Regions from separate parts of the Homo sapiens genome. Here region 1 is linked to region 2. The links are contacts of gene promoters, found by promoter capture Hi-C in blood cells and fetal thymus (Javierre and others, 2016). All regions are on one chromosome and are shown on one strand. The core of a region is centred on a gene start or on the middle of the fragment in contact, and the rest is flanking DNA. Distances in the headings are between cores, read along the strand shown.

Region 1 (6,972 bases), core at 129-2,628, 920 kb after region 2:
AAGCGCGAGCGGGGATGAGGTAGGGAGAGGGAGGTAGGTGCCGCTCGGCTGCAGATGATGCGTGGGTGGGGGGCTTGCTGTGGGAGGAGAGGCCCAGGTCCCGGCCTGCGCCCTCCACTCCGCGGCTGCTCCCTCCGCCTCTGGTTTTCCAAGAGGCCGGTCGCTACCCCGGAGGACACTCTCATCCTTCAGTCAGTCTCCTGGACACCCCTTCCTCCTCCTGTCCCTCAACCTGACCTGGCTCTTTCGCCCCTCCGAGAACCGGTAGGCTGGGGTCCCTCGGCGGGGTTCTCCTGGGCCGCACCCGAAGCTTTGCGCCCCCGGTATCCGGGCCCAGTGCTCCGTGCAACCCTGGGCCCGAGCGCACGATTCCGGCGCCTGCTCGCCGCCAGACACAGCGCCCTTTCTTCCCGGAGCGGCGGGGGCGGGAGCAGGGGGGTCAGGCCAACCCTTGCACCCCCGAGGCCTGGCCCGGGCCACCCTGGGAACGGATGTTCTGCATGGAGAGCGAGGGGCAGCCGGAGGACGTCCTCCGCATCATACCCCTCCCCTTCCCCAGAAGGCTTTTTTTTTTTCCGGACTGCGGGTTTCTTTTTCTCTGCCTTCTTCCTCTGAACCTACGGCAGGTGTCAGCCTCTTTTTGTGTATGTGCTGCTGCTATCTCGGGGATGGCGGGGGAGGGGGTGCAGGAGGCAGCGTGAAGGGGTCCTAGGAGGTTCCGGCGGGGTTTTGGCCCCTGCGGTGCGCCGGGGCTTGCAACTCGCCCGGGTGCTGGGCGCGCGCGTCACGAATTCAGCCTAGGGCTTGGGCGAGTCTGCGGGGAGTGAGGACAGAGGATCCCGATCTGTCATTTGGACCCAACTTAAGAAATTTGGGGTGGGGGTTGGGTGGGGGTTTTGGAACTAAGCAGGTGATGTTCTTGCGAGCTGGATCCACAAGGTGGTAGTATGGCTTCTTTTTATTTTTATTTTATTTTATTTCTATTTGGTCATTTTTTTTGGGGGGGGCGGTGGTTTGTTGTTGTTGTTGTTGCTCTTATCTTATGCTTTTTGAAGGCATCCGTTGCCCGTAGGGTTTACATCGGAGCGCGTTGCATTATATTTTCTTGAAAGGGGGTGGTGTGCGTGAGCTCCCATCTCAGAATCAGCCCTTCCGGTGATGTGAGGAAGGCAAAAGCAAAAAAAAAAAAAAAAAAAAAAAAAAAAAAAAGAAAAAAAGAAAGAAAAAAAAGGAAAAGAAAAAGTTTAGGGAGACCTCGTTATCCTGACGAAGCAGAATTGCCAGTTTGTGTGGGCGTTCTGCGGGCAACATAGAAGTGCATGCTTAAGAAATCCGGGGTAGCTTCCTTCTCCAGCTAGAAATTAAATGGCCAGGGTGCAAACACCTGACTTTGATGAGAACAAAGCGGCAGAAACTGCAAGAGACCTGCATGGTTTGAATGGACGCACTGAGCCTTTTCCTAGGGGATGGCAGAGCGGGGTGAAATCAGATAGCAAAGAAATCTGCCGTTTTGTGGGGGCAGATTTGGAGAGTGGAGAATTATTTCATACCTTTAGTTGGCTGTGGGGAAGATGTTAGCAGTAATCCATTAAATCCTCAGCATAGATTTTCCTGTGGAAATGAGCAAAATGTTAAGTGGGGGAGGGATGGCTAATGGCACATGGTTGCATTAATCCCTGTATTTCCAGAAAAAAATATGGAATTTCTGTGTATCCTAAAATTAAGAATACAGGAATTTCATGGAGAACTCTGCAAGCATGTATTTTCTCAGATTAGAAATTCAGTATTTTATTACTCAATGAAATGTAGAATGCGTGTGTGTGTATGTGTGTATACAGACATACACACACGCATTCTACATTTCTACATATATGTGTGTGTGTGTGTATATATATATATATATATATATATATATATATATGGCCATTTTAAAGAGTATTTTCTTTGACATGTAAGAACATAATCAGGGCCAGTTGTAGCAAGTGGAAAATTACTTCATCAGTTTTAAGTCAGTAGATTAAAATGGAAGGCTTCATTTTTTTTTGAAATCAGAATAATAATTGCATTTTCATAATAATGCCTGTGCGTGGATGCAGTTTTAAAGATGCTTTGATGTTTTCTTCTCCAGTGGAAGAATTGCTACTTTTCTTTGCGTTTTATTTAAATAAACTAATGCCGAGTATACAGTTGGCCCTCAAACCAGTAACCTAGCTGATTTTTACCCAAACCTGAGAATGTAACAGATACTTGATAAGGGACTGGTGGCTGCATAAGGTAGATAATGAAGTTATCTTGATGCTGTGAAATTTACAAGCAGACTTGAAAGAATTTGAAAGTTCATAGTTGTTGGCCTGGAATGTAGCCTAATGGTAAATATATAGATTTTTTAAAATTTGTGAACTTGGCTATTTCATTGTTTTGTGTGTAGTAATTTGTGGAAAGCTTATAGTCTCTCCACAAAGATGAGAGTGTTGACTGACTCCGCAACAGAGACTTGCTTTTGGAAGTGCAGGGGTCTCTTTAAAAGCCATTTGGAATACTGTGCTTTTATTTCTAGACCACAACCAAAAGGTTCTCAAAAAACTAAACATTCAAGTGCACGAGGGAATGACCTCCGTTTAACATTCTTTCTTTTTAATTGGTACGCCACATTTCAAACCTTTTGTAATACTGTTGAATATTGCCAATAATGCAACTTGTTGAGCGAATGCATTGCATTCAAATGAAGTAGCAATATACAAATATTTTAAGTCCTTTAGTATCCTCCTTCTAAAGATAGGCTTATCTGGTTAAAATATACTTATATTCCAAATAAGGTGAGAGTTGGTCTTAAGATGTGAATGTCAAGTGTAAGAGACACGATTTTAGTTTGTAAACCAGAATGTATTCTTTCTGTACTGCTTTCTGCCTTTTAACAATATGTATTCTATTCCCAAATGGGGAAATATGTTCAGTTTAGTTTAAATCTGTTGCTCTTTTTGTGTGTGTTTTTGTCTGAGTACTGTACTTTTTCAGAGGAGAGACTTCGTCTCCTATTTAATTATGTGAATGGATATTCAGACAGATTTGAATAGCCACCACTGATTTCTTAAACTCCTGAGCTACCAGTTTTAAATCAAAGATACATCTTTTGCACAGTCAATTAGAGGAAGTGAGAATCAAAATTGAAGCCCAGGCTGCTGAGGCAATTAGGTCATCTGCTGTGCTCTCTACTACCATTCACTCAACGAATATTTTCCAGTTCTGTCATTTTTCTCTAAACAACCTACATTTGGACTTTGAAAGGCTCCACTGTTCTTTGTTAAGTGAACGGCAGTGTAGGAAGCCCTTCCTCATTTTTCTTGGAGCACAGTAGCACACATGAACAAGAAAAAAAAGAAGGTGATAGCTCCTAGCAGTTTGTCATTGTGCCATTTATAGGCTTTGAATAAATGTATAGATGAAAAGGCTTTCCCTCTGCAGGTGGTTACATTAAACAAAAAATAAGTAAATAAAAGCCTCATAAAATCATTACGGGAGTGGAAGGTTGGTGGTGGAAAACAGCCCATCTACCTCGGGCTGAGATTTCAAACTTTAGACATCTCGTGTTCAGTTCACGTGTCCCAGGTGTGTGCGGAACACCTCCATACACCACATCTTCCCAAGGCACTCTCATCTTCCCAGAAATGGTACCTGAAGGAGAACAGACCTAACCCCAACAATACTAAAATACGTATATAAAAAACTATATATAGTAAGATATGTATCCTACTATATAATATATATATGGTAATACATATTATAGTAAGGTCTGCATCATGTATATAAAAATACACTATATATCTTATTATTATATATATAGTGAGATGAGGTGTATTAATCCATTCTCAGGCTGCTAAAAAAGACATACCCAAGACTGGGTAATTTGTAAAGGAAAGAGGTTTAAATGACTCACAGTTCAGCATGGCTGGAGAGGCCTCAGGAAACTTACAATCATGGTGGAAGGGGAAGCAAATACTTCCTTCTTCACATGATGGCAGGAAGGAGAGGAATGAGAACCGAGTGAAGGGGGAAACCCCTTATAAAATCAACAGATCTTGTGAGAACTTACTCACTATCATAAGAATAGCATGGGGCAAACTGCCCCCATGATTCAATTACTTCCCACCACATCCCTCCACGACACGTGGGGATTATGGGAGCTACAATCCAAGATGAGGTTTGGTGGGGACAAAGCCAAACCATATCATGAGGTTTTATTGAATTTATTTGAGACAGGAAAAGAGTAATCCTCCATAATTTAGAAAGGAGATGAAGTACAATGAACATTTAGGTCCTCATTAGTTGAGGAATACATTTCAAAGAGAGAAATGTTAATTTCAGTATAGTGCTAATGAAACGATCTAGGCTTTCACTGCTCTCTGGAAATGTGGATAAATGGCCCAGAATTTTGTTTGGGTTGTTTTATTTAAAATGTATATTATATAAAGAAATCATGGTTTGTCAAAGTAACAGAGTGCTATTTTTGGCTTACAACAGGACTTTCTTAGCTCCACCTGTTAATATCGGTGATCATTTTGGTTTTAAGAGGCTGGTACCTGATTGGATGATGAAAACTTGGATCTCAAAGCCATCACCCCAGACATGTGATTTTATTAACATCTGTGGGCATCTGTCCGGCTCCCACATCAACCCTTCATCCAGGCTCATTTTCTGTTTGTTTTTGTTTGGTTGTTTGTATGCTTTGGTTGGGGAGAGGGGACACGGATTTTGCTAAGGGCACCTTTTTCAGGAGTGAAACTTAGCCTGTCATATAAGCTGAAAAGGAACTTGGGTTGTTTCAAGTTGCATTACTTGGTAAGTTTTTGGATCCTTTAAAAAAGAAAGGACTGAGGTTACTAAAAGTGTTATTGGCACTGATAAAAGAGCTATGGTGAATTGTGGTTTGTTTTTGTAAAGTGCAGAAAAGGCCTCTTTGGTTCTGTGATGATGGCTGTGGTGAAGTTGCATGCGGTGCCATTTTCCATGTTTAGTATTTCAACACCACCAATATGTGGCTCTGGAGTATGGGACGGGCAAGTCCAAGAACTCAGTGAGGCATGCCGTGTGACTCCAATGGTCAGAGCTGTTCAGCATGGAACTGTGGTCTCAAAAGCATGGGGGATGGGGGCAGAAGAAGCTCGCTGCAACTGAGTGCCTTTAACTTATTCCACTCTTCAGTACTCTCTGTGACTATAACTCTGTGAATGGGTTAGGTGGGGAAACTCACAAAAGTAAATGCATGTTTTCACAAACAAAATATGTCATTGTTAACTGTTTTCCTAAGTGAGACAATATGCCCTCATGCCCTGAAGCTACATGGTAAGAATGGCAGTGTGTATGAGCGGGTGTATACACATACATGTATGCATATGCTAACACATTAACTAGGAACTAGTCTTTGCTGAAAATGTTTTTCTCAGCCATTGCAACACATTAGATAAAAGCAAATATATATATATATATATATATATATATATATATATATAATATAAGAAGGAAAAATGTGGTTTTCCATTATTTTCTTTTTCTTATCCTCATCATTCACCAAATCTATATTAAACAACTCATAACATCTGGCCTGGGTAATAGAGTGAGACCCCAACTCCACAAAGAAACAAAAATTAAAAACAAATTAGCCGGGCCTGATGGCAAGTACCTGTGGTTCCAGCTGAGGTGGGAGGATCACTTGAGCCCAGGAGTTCAGGGCTGCAGTGAGCTATGATTACGCCAGTGTACTCCAGCCTGGGAGACAGAGCAAGACCCTATCTCTAAAAATATAAATAAATAAATAAATAAATAATAAATAAAAATAGAAAATGTACAATGAAAGTTATAAAGTTGGCCAGGCGTGGTGGCTCACGCCTGTAATCCCAGCACTTTGGGAGGCTGAGGTGGGCGAATCACCTGAGGTCAGTAGTTCAAGACTAGCCTGGCCAACATGGCGAAATCCTGTCTCTACTAAAAATACAAAAACTAGCTGGGTGTGGTGGTGTGTGCCTGTAATCCCAGCTATACAGGAGGCTGAGGCCGGAGAATTGCTTGAACCTGGGAGGGGGAGGTTGCAGTGAGCCAAGATCGTGCCATTGCACTGTAGCTTGGGTGACAGAGCGAGACTCTGTCTCAAAAAAAAAAAAAAAAAAAAAGAAAGTTATAAAGTTACCTATGATGGGTCTGGATGTACTCCTTATTTAGGAGTGAAGACATTCGTTAACATGAGACCTAAGTAAGTAGAAAGTATGTGTTTAAGGGACAGGTGTCCATTTTCTCTAGGTCTCCTGGAAGCTTTTTTTTTCTAATTTGAGTACTAGTTCCAAAAAAGGTGTTACCGCCTATGTTTATAGTGAAACTATCTATGTGTGACAAAATTCTACCCTCTCTTGTCCATCAATATTGTGCAATGTTGTGTACTTGTATGGAGAAATAGACAACTTTTACAAAGATCAAACTAGGCACCCTTTACCAACGCTAAACTCATAACCCTTTTATCTGCCTTTGTAGAAGATTCTCACCTTTATTTCTCTTGGTCCCTCTGAGAAATATTTTCCTCTGAGACAATGCAATCTATGCCTCATCTTTAAGCAATCCTAGCTCACCAGTATGAGTAATGTTGTCTATTTTTAAGGTTATCTCATTATTCTAAAAGACTTTAAATTGTTGAAAAATAAATTGTGTGAGGGGTGGTAGAGTTTGAAACAATTATCTGTGATGTTACCAGATATTTTAGACTAAAATATATTAGAATCCAAGGTATTGTTCATGCCTTAAAAATGCTGAAATATCTGACTGTTGCTTATTAATTTTAAAAAGAATATAGGAAATAGCCATTAATTAATGAGGCTGTTTCCACTACCACATAAAAAAAAAAAAAGCTCACAGGTGCCTGTATGTTTTTGTCGAATCAAAGTAATCTGCTTTATGTATGCATTTATTCATAGAATTTACTAAAATCAA
Region 2 (7,167 bases), core at 2,773-5,272:
TGCAGAGAAGCAAACTGGACCTCTCGCTCAGAGCCAGTTTGCACTCTGATGGTGAAGGGGTTCAAAAACAATGACCCTCCCCACACAAAAATACCAGATATGTCCGAGAGTACAAAGCCAGGAGTGGCGAATTCAGCCATCTATGTCAGGCTCCCTTCCAGAGCTCACTGGGCTTGGAGGAAAGCAGCAGCGGGAAGGGGTGAGAATATTCAGTGCCTCTGAAGCAAGAGACTTCCTAAGTCAGCGTTGCAAAGCCAGCTATCTAGGGGAAGAAGGCAGGTAAGTCTGCAATGAGGAGCTCAAATTCAGGCCCCATCAGATGAAGTCAGAGCTTTCTGGTCTCTCAGCATCATCAAGAAAAGTAGACTGTGTACAGCCACTGAGAAAGATGGTCCCTAGTCCAACCTGTTACCCTCCATCTACGCTGGGCAAGATTTGTACCCCTAGAAAAGTAAAGAGAATAACAGGGCAAAGTGGGCTCACAGAAAACAGATACAGCAGACTGGAAACCAAATACAACAGATAACAAAAGCACAGAGACACAGGAACCAGGACAACAAACTAAGGAAGTTGAAATAAGCTAAGACTCCCTACAGGATGGCATATATATACACACAATAAATGGCATGTTTAAGTTTACATGTTGTGTGAAAGAAGAGCATCTGTTTATTTGTCCCATTGATAATGTGCTTTTGATGCCATCGTACTGTAGTTTACTGGATCATTTCTATTGTGTCTTAAAATTGTCAGGAAAAGTAAGTTATTGTCCCATGGGGAGAACACAACTGTACAAAAGTAAACTGTAATTCATGGAAGGAAATGCATCCCCATCAGCATAGAAACTGCCCATCTTTGGCTGTTGGAGAATTATGAAAAGCTAAAAACTAACTTGTTATATGTGTACAAACCACATTGCTAGAACAAAATTTCATTCTTTTCCAATCTAGCTTGTGACAGAGAAGCATTCACCATTCAGTTTGTTTTTTTTTTTTTAAGCAAAGAGGAGTCTTCCATCTTATGCATAGAAGTGATGTTACTGAAAAGTGTAGAAAATAAGACTGATAAAAACATAATGTGAAGCATGTTTTCACATCTGTGGAGAGCTGAAGTACCTACGATTTCCCAATCTGTCTCTTCCACAATCGCTGTGAGGCTTTGCCATTTCGTCAAAATGGCATTGGGGCCTTTTTTCCTTTGAAAAATACTCTTTTTTGGCCGGGGGCGGTGGCTCACGTCTGTAATTCCAGCACTTTGGGAAGCCGAGGTGGGCAGATCACTAGGTCAGGAGTTCAAGACCAGCCTGGCCAACATGGTAAAACCCCATCTCTACTAAAAAATACAAAAATTAGCTGGGTGTGGTGGCTGGCGCCTGTAATCCCAGCTACTTGGGAGGCTGAGGCAGGAGAATCACTTGAACCCAGGAGGCTGAGGCTGCAGTGAGCAGAGATTGCGCCACCGTGCTCCAGCCTGGGTGACAGAGTGAGACTCTGTCTCATAAAAGAAGAAAGAAAAAAGAAAAATACTCTTTTTTAATTTAATGACTAAACAGAAATGTGAGGTGGTTACAATACCAAAAAAATAACAGTAACTCTGACATGTGTGCATCCATTTGTTTCCAGAGAATGGAAGGAAACTGGGAGGGAGAATTCTACAGACTCCAGGTGGGAAATACTGTCATACTTACTGTAGGTACCACAGCTATGTGTGTGCAATGCATCTATTATGGAATTGTGTTCCCAAAAATATATGTTGGAGTCCTCATCCCCGCTACCTCAGAATGTGACCTTATTTGGAAACAGGATTTTGTCAGAGGTAATCAAATTAAAATGTAGTTATTAGGGTGGTCCTTAGTCCAATAAGAATCGTGTTCTTATAAAAGGAGAAAATTTGGACACAGAGACACACACAGAGGGAAGACGATAGGACAAGATACAGGGAAAGGAAAGCAGGTTCAAGCTGAGGAGAAAGACCTGGAATAGGTCCTTTCCTCACAGCCCTCAGAAGGAATTAAGACTGCTGACATCTTGATCTAGGACTTCTGGCCTCCAGATCTGTGACACAATACACATCTGCTGTTTAGGTTACTTAGTCTGTGGTATATTACTATGGCAGCTGTAGTAAACTAATACAGAAACCACGAACGACTGTATTTGAGGCGCAAGTCCCTACCTAATTTGCTCATAAATTGCCTTCTCTGAAATCCCGTGTCCTCAAAGGGAAATCACGATTGCATTAAATGGGGGAAGCTCTCTTATAGTACCACCTCTAAGAACACATAATTTTATTGACTATATATTATGCACTGGTACTAAGGGCTTGGCCTGCCTCACCTCCTTTATCACCTCCATTTTACCCAGGAGGAAACAGACACAGGTGCACTTTGTCTATCATAGATAATAATTCTTGCTGAATCCAGGCATGCCCCTGTCCACTATGTCTGCACTAAACTAGAAATACACTCTCATGTTTACACCTTTTTTTTTTTGTCTTTTTCCCCTTTTGTGGAGAACAGGGTCTCGCTATATTGCCCAGGCAGTTCTTAAACTTCTGGGCTCAAACTATTCCCCCAACTCCCACTTCTGCCTCCCTAAGTACTGGGATTACAGGTGTGGGCCACTGCGCCCAGCACACCCTCACGTTTTTAAAGTCTTGAAATTCTCCTATTTCCGCTTCTCAAAAGGTCCAATCCTTTTCCTTAAACGTGAATATACCACATAAACGAACACGAAATAGAAACAGGGACAAAAAAGTATTTTTTTGACGATGGCAAACGGGAAAAAAAAAAAAGAAAGCTGTTTAGGTGGCATTTGAAAAGTTAAAAAAGAAAGAAAACTCAGAGCAGCCCAAAAGACAGATGATACCTAAGAAGGCACAACCAGCAAGACATGTTGACTGTTAGTATTATTTCAGCATCCTCCTTGAGCAGCTTGGCTTTGCTCTGGGACAATGCACCAGCCTGGGATGCTCAGAGATGCAGGCACGGAGGTTGTGCAGCCTCTCCGCACACTGCGCATGCGCGGCTGCCGGTTCAAGTCGCGGTCCAGGACCGCAAGGAGGCGGGCAAGCGAAACTGAGAAAAACCCACCCACGGTCCAGGGACTGGGGGCTCGGGCGAACCCACCCAGGGACCTCCTGACCAAGGCCATTTGTCTGCAACCTGATGGCTAGAAGTGATACCACCCTGAGCATCTTCAATCCCCTTTCCCCACTCTACAGCCCCTTGTACTGTCCCTCCTTCCTCATTCACACCCCTGATCCAAACTCAAGCACTGAATTTGTCCCCAGACGAGGGCCTCGGCTCTGCGCGGCCGCTGGCTGAGTAGCTTGGCCCGATTCCGGGTGTGAAGTGAGGAGGAATTGATGCGGGTAAACATACAGCGCCGGCCCGCGCCGCATCCCGGGTCTGCAGCTACAGCTGCGGCGAAAGCCCAAGGTGCGCGTGCGCGGAGCGCCACTAGGCAGCCCAGGACGCGCGGGCTCGGAGCCGGGCGAGGGGCCGCGGAAGGCGCGTGCGCAGAGCGACCCCGGGCGCGCGAGAAGGTCCTCAGTGCGCGTGCGCGGGGCGGGCGGGTGCGCGCGCACTTCCTCCTCGCCCCCACCCAGACCCAGAAGGCGCCACCATGGCGGCGCCCCCGCAGCCCGTCACCCACCTCATCTTTGACATGGACGGACTTCTTCTGGGTGGGTAGTGTGCAGCCGCCGCCTCCAGTAAGGGCGGTCTTGTGTGGGCGTGGGGACGGTCGGCGCGGGGTACGTCACGGCCTGGGGGCCGCGGCGGGGCGGTGTTCATGCAGGGACGCTCGGGCTCCCGCGCGCTCTGCCCCCGGCTGGCCCCGAAGTCGGGCGGCGGCCAGGAGCGCCCGCGGGCCCATGTCCGGGCTGGCGGGCGCGCGTGGCCGCGGCGTCTACGCGGCCCCAGCACCCGCTTCCGGTCGGCGGCCCGCGCGTGGGGCCGGAGCACGTGGGAGCAGTCCCTGGGGTCCACCGGGCGGGCGCGCGGCTCCGCGTCCTCTCCTCAGAGCGAGGCGCGGCGGGACCTCCGCGCTCTCTTTTCGGTTACGCATGCGTGCGACCTTGAGCGGTGCCCAGCCTCAGCTTCCCCGTCTGCAAAGTAGCCTGGAGGATACTTGCCTGCCTGCTCCAAGGTTGCTGCTGTGGGCGCACTTTGATGGTAGCATCCTGCATGGTAGCGGTTCTCTACCTGGCGGTTTTGCAGCCCTGAGGGCATCTGGCAATGGCGATGTCAGGAGACATTTTGGCTGTCACAGCTGGCGAGGAGTGATGGGGTCACTGGCATCTAGTGGAGTCCAGACCAGTGATACTGTTAAACTTCCCGCAGTGCACAGGAGTGCCCTATGCAACCATAAGGAATTATCCCGCGCCGTCAACAGTGTAGAGGCACAGAAGGTCCGTCAAGTGGCCTGGCTGCCTAGGGTGACCAGCACCGGGGACATCACCTGTGGGCTACTTGTAAATGTAGAAGCTGGGGCCCCACCCTACCCCTGCCCAATCAGAATCTGCATTTTAAGCGCGTGAACGTTTGAGAACAGCTGCTCTATCAATCCGAGGCATTAAGAAACCCTTGGCAGTGTACTAAGGTAGTCAGTCTTAGCACATGTGAACTTCACCAGCCAAGAGGAATTCAAGTAGAATTCAAAGAATAAAACCCTGTTTTTAACTCAAGACAGAACTATGCTGAGCTCTACCGAAAGCCTTGACACAGTTAACACTATGACACATAATCACCAGGAGGCTTCATATATCTATAAACATGTCTGCATACTCTTTGTAGACAGCTGACCTGCTTGGTTACGTATATCATTCCTTCATTTCAAAACCCTGCAAGTTAGGAGGAAGTATTTGCATGTCACTAATTAAAAAAAAAAAAAAAAAAAAAACCCTGCAGCTCAGAGAGGTAAAGCTACTTGCCCAAGGTCACACAGCTAATAAGCCAAGCTGAGAAACGATTCTGGATTGATCCAGTTCTAAATATAAATGATGTTGAGCTCATCTTAAATTGTGAATGTGACCTTGTTTCTGCTCATCATATTGCTGGGTAATTCCCTAGCAGTGTTTCCTTTTAAAAAGGCATGCAGAAACCATTCTCTTCATTTTATGAACACAGAGGTGTAAACTGATGAATTCCAAAGGAAAAAAAAAATCCCCGTAGAGGTCACTAATTGGAGCCAACGGTGTATGCAGCTACTAAATTTGAAATGACTCAATTTCAGAAAGCTTGTGGGATACATAGGTATAGTTTGTAGACATGAATTTTCCTACTCCGGTGGTCAAAAAGTTAAATTGTCAAATAAATTTCTTATCCTCTAATAAAGGTCCAGAGAACCTGTTCTGGGAGTCTCATGAATTTTAATACCAAACAAGATGTCTCATTAAAATTAAATTTATTAAACTTCTAAATGAGCTTGGTGCCTAATTCTGATTCTAGATTCACACATAGCCATGCCCTGAAGTGATGAATGTGACTTAAATGGCATTACAAGCATTGACCTCACATTGTTACCCAATCCTCTGATCTAGTCAGATAACCAAGAATTAGTGCTATTTGGAAAAATAAGCCCTGCTTCTTTTTATTCCCCCCCCTCATTTTCTGCCCATTTCCTCCTTTCCTGCCCTACCTCTTCTTTGAGGTGGTAAGGCCTTGCAAAACTTTCTTGGAAATATACCTTTGTTTATCCCATTCTTTCACCAAATGTGTAAATATAAAACACAGCTTTCCAAGATGTGCCACTTTAATTTAATCTACCAGATTATGCCTGCTGTCATTCTTTAGCACCTCACTTCAGTGTATCTGTTGTTTGCATAACAATATACTATCAATTTATAATGAGTTATTTTACAATAGGTCTGTTTTTCGGGAATTTTGAATGCATTTTTCTAGGAAGTTCTGTTTGTCTATGTAGCCCCAATACTTGCATACTTGGGGAAGTAAAATTGAAAACGAATAGTTTCATGGAGGATTGTTAACATTAGAGGAGAAGATTGTTTAATCAGAGGAGAATGAGGAAGTAAATGGAGATTTTAGAGGAAATGTTGACCAGGAAGAAAGCCAGGACACTTTCCCATGCTTTTGACATGCACGATGCTGTTAGTTGTCCTTTAAAAAAAAAAAAAAATACACTTCGGTTTCTGTTTCTCATGACCAAGGTAAGAGTCAGTTATGATTTAGGTAATATTAATAATTTTGGCTCTCAAATGCCATTCAGAGAAAGAGAGTAGGGGAGTGGGATTAGTTAAAAACTGGGATGATTTTGAAATAAGAAGATGACAATTATTAAACAGTATCTCAGCAGCTGGACAGGGAAGATTATTCTGTTTGTAAATAACTGAAATTAGGAACACAAAAGATGGTCCCAATTTCTTTAAAAGAGAAGACAGTTTGTTGTCCAGAGCAGTTCTGTCTCATAGAATTGAGCCAGGTAAAAATTTTGGGGAGCAATTTTTAATAAGTAAAAAGATACAGATGACATTGATTTGGATGATGTATGTTATGTAACCTAATGTATCAAAAATATTATTTAATACAAAGTCAGTATAAGAAAATCTTTGAAGTGTTTGACATTAATTTTGATACTAGGTCCTCAAAATCTGTGTGTGTTTTATACATACAACACATCTTAGTTTGAACTAGCCTCATTTCAGGCACTCTGTAGCCTCATTTGGTGGGTGGCTACTGGCTTGGACAGCATGGGTCTAGGTCTTTGTGGAGCAACCCAAGATGTCTGTTGATAATGGCTATGCTGGGAGGGTCAGGCAGAGGGTGGGTGTTAAGAATATTCAGAATTAGGAGTTTTGGTGTATGTAAAATGTGGTATGTGTAAAATGTGTTTTCTTGGAGTCTAATACAGAATTATTTAAAATCCTTTTAAAATCAAAGGAAAATAAGCTTATTTCCAGTTTCTTAAATATCGTAAAATAATAAGGTAGATCTGCGAAGGGTAATAAGAACATTTGCAGTGTTGACCATAATATACCATATCTTTATAAATCCAGATTGCAGGATTTTAATGAGTGACTTCTACTTCACCTTTAGTAAAATGAAGACCTCTTCTGTGCCTTTTTGCACTCCCGTAGCTTCCTCCTTGCCAAATAATAGCACTTGAGACTATAAGTGCCTGCCTCACTGTCTGGGGCCCAGGAGACCCTAAA

What was found. Contacts are between HindIII fragments. The CHiCAGO score rates a contact against its expected background, and 5 or more counts as called.
Region 1: a fragment that was not itself captured here is called in contact with the fragment with the promoter of STS in region 2 in 1 of 17 cell types (fetal thymus); the score reaches 5.1 in fetal thymus.

The regions. Positions count from the first base shown.
Region 1 is chrX:6,219,927-6,226,898 of GRCh38, reverse strand. The region is part of intron 1 of NLGN4X (neuroligin 4 X-linked); the gene reads left to right. LOC105373156 (a long non-coding RNA gene) reads right to left here and starts at 541. Exons shown (of 1, transcript NR_136577.1): 1 at 1-541. The HindIII fragment of the contact is 2,132 bases long and covers 313-2,444 here.
Region 2 is chrX:7,144,567-7,151,733 of GRCh38, reverse strand. STS (steroid sulfatase) reads right to left here and starts at 4,022. Exons shown (of 11, transcript NM_001320752.2): 1 at 3,651-4,022. PUDP (pseudouridine 5'-phosphatase) reads left to right here and starts at 3,581. Exons shown (of 4, transcript NM_012080.5): 1 at 3,581-3,681. The coding sequence starts at 3,621. MIR4767 (microRNA 4767) reads right to left here and starts at 3,874; the gene lies at 3,797-3,874. RefSeq lists an enhancer at 3,102-3,151 and a silencer at 3,342-4,061. The HindIII fragment of the contact is 8,353 bases long and covers 1-5,237 here.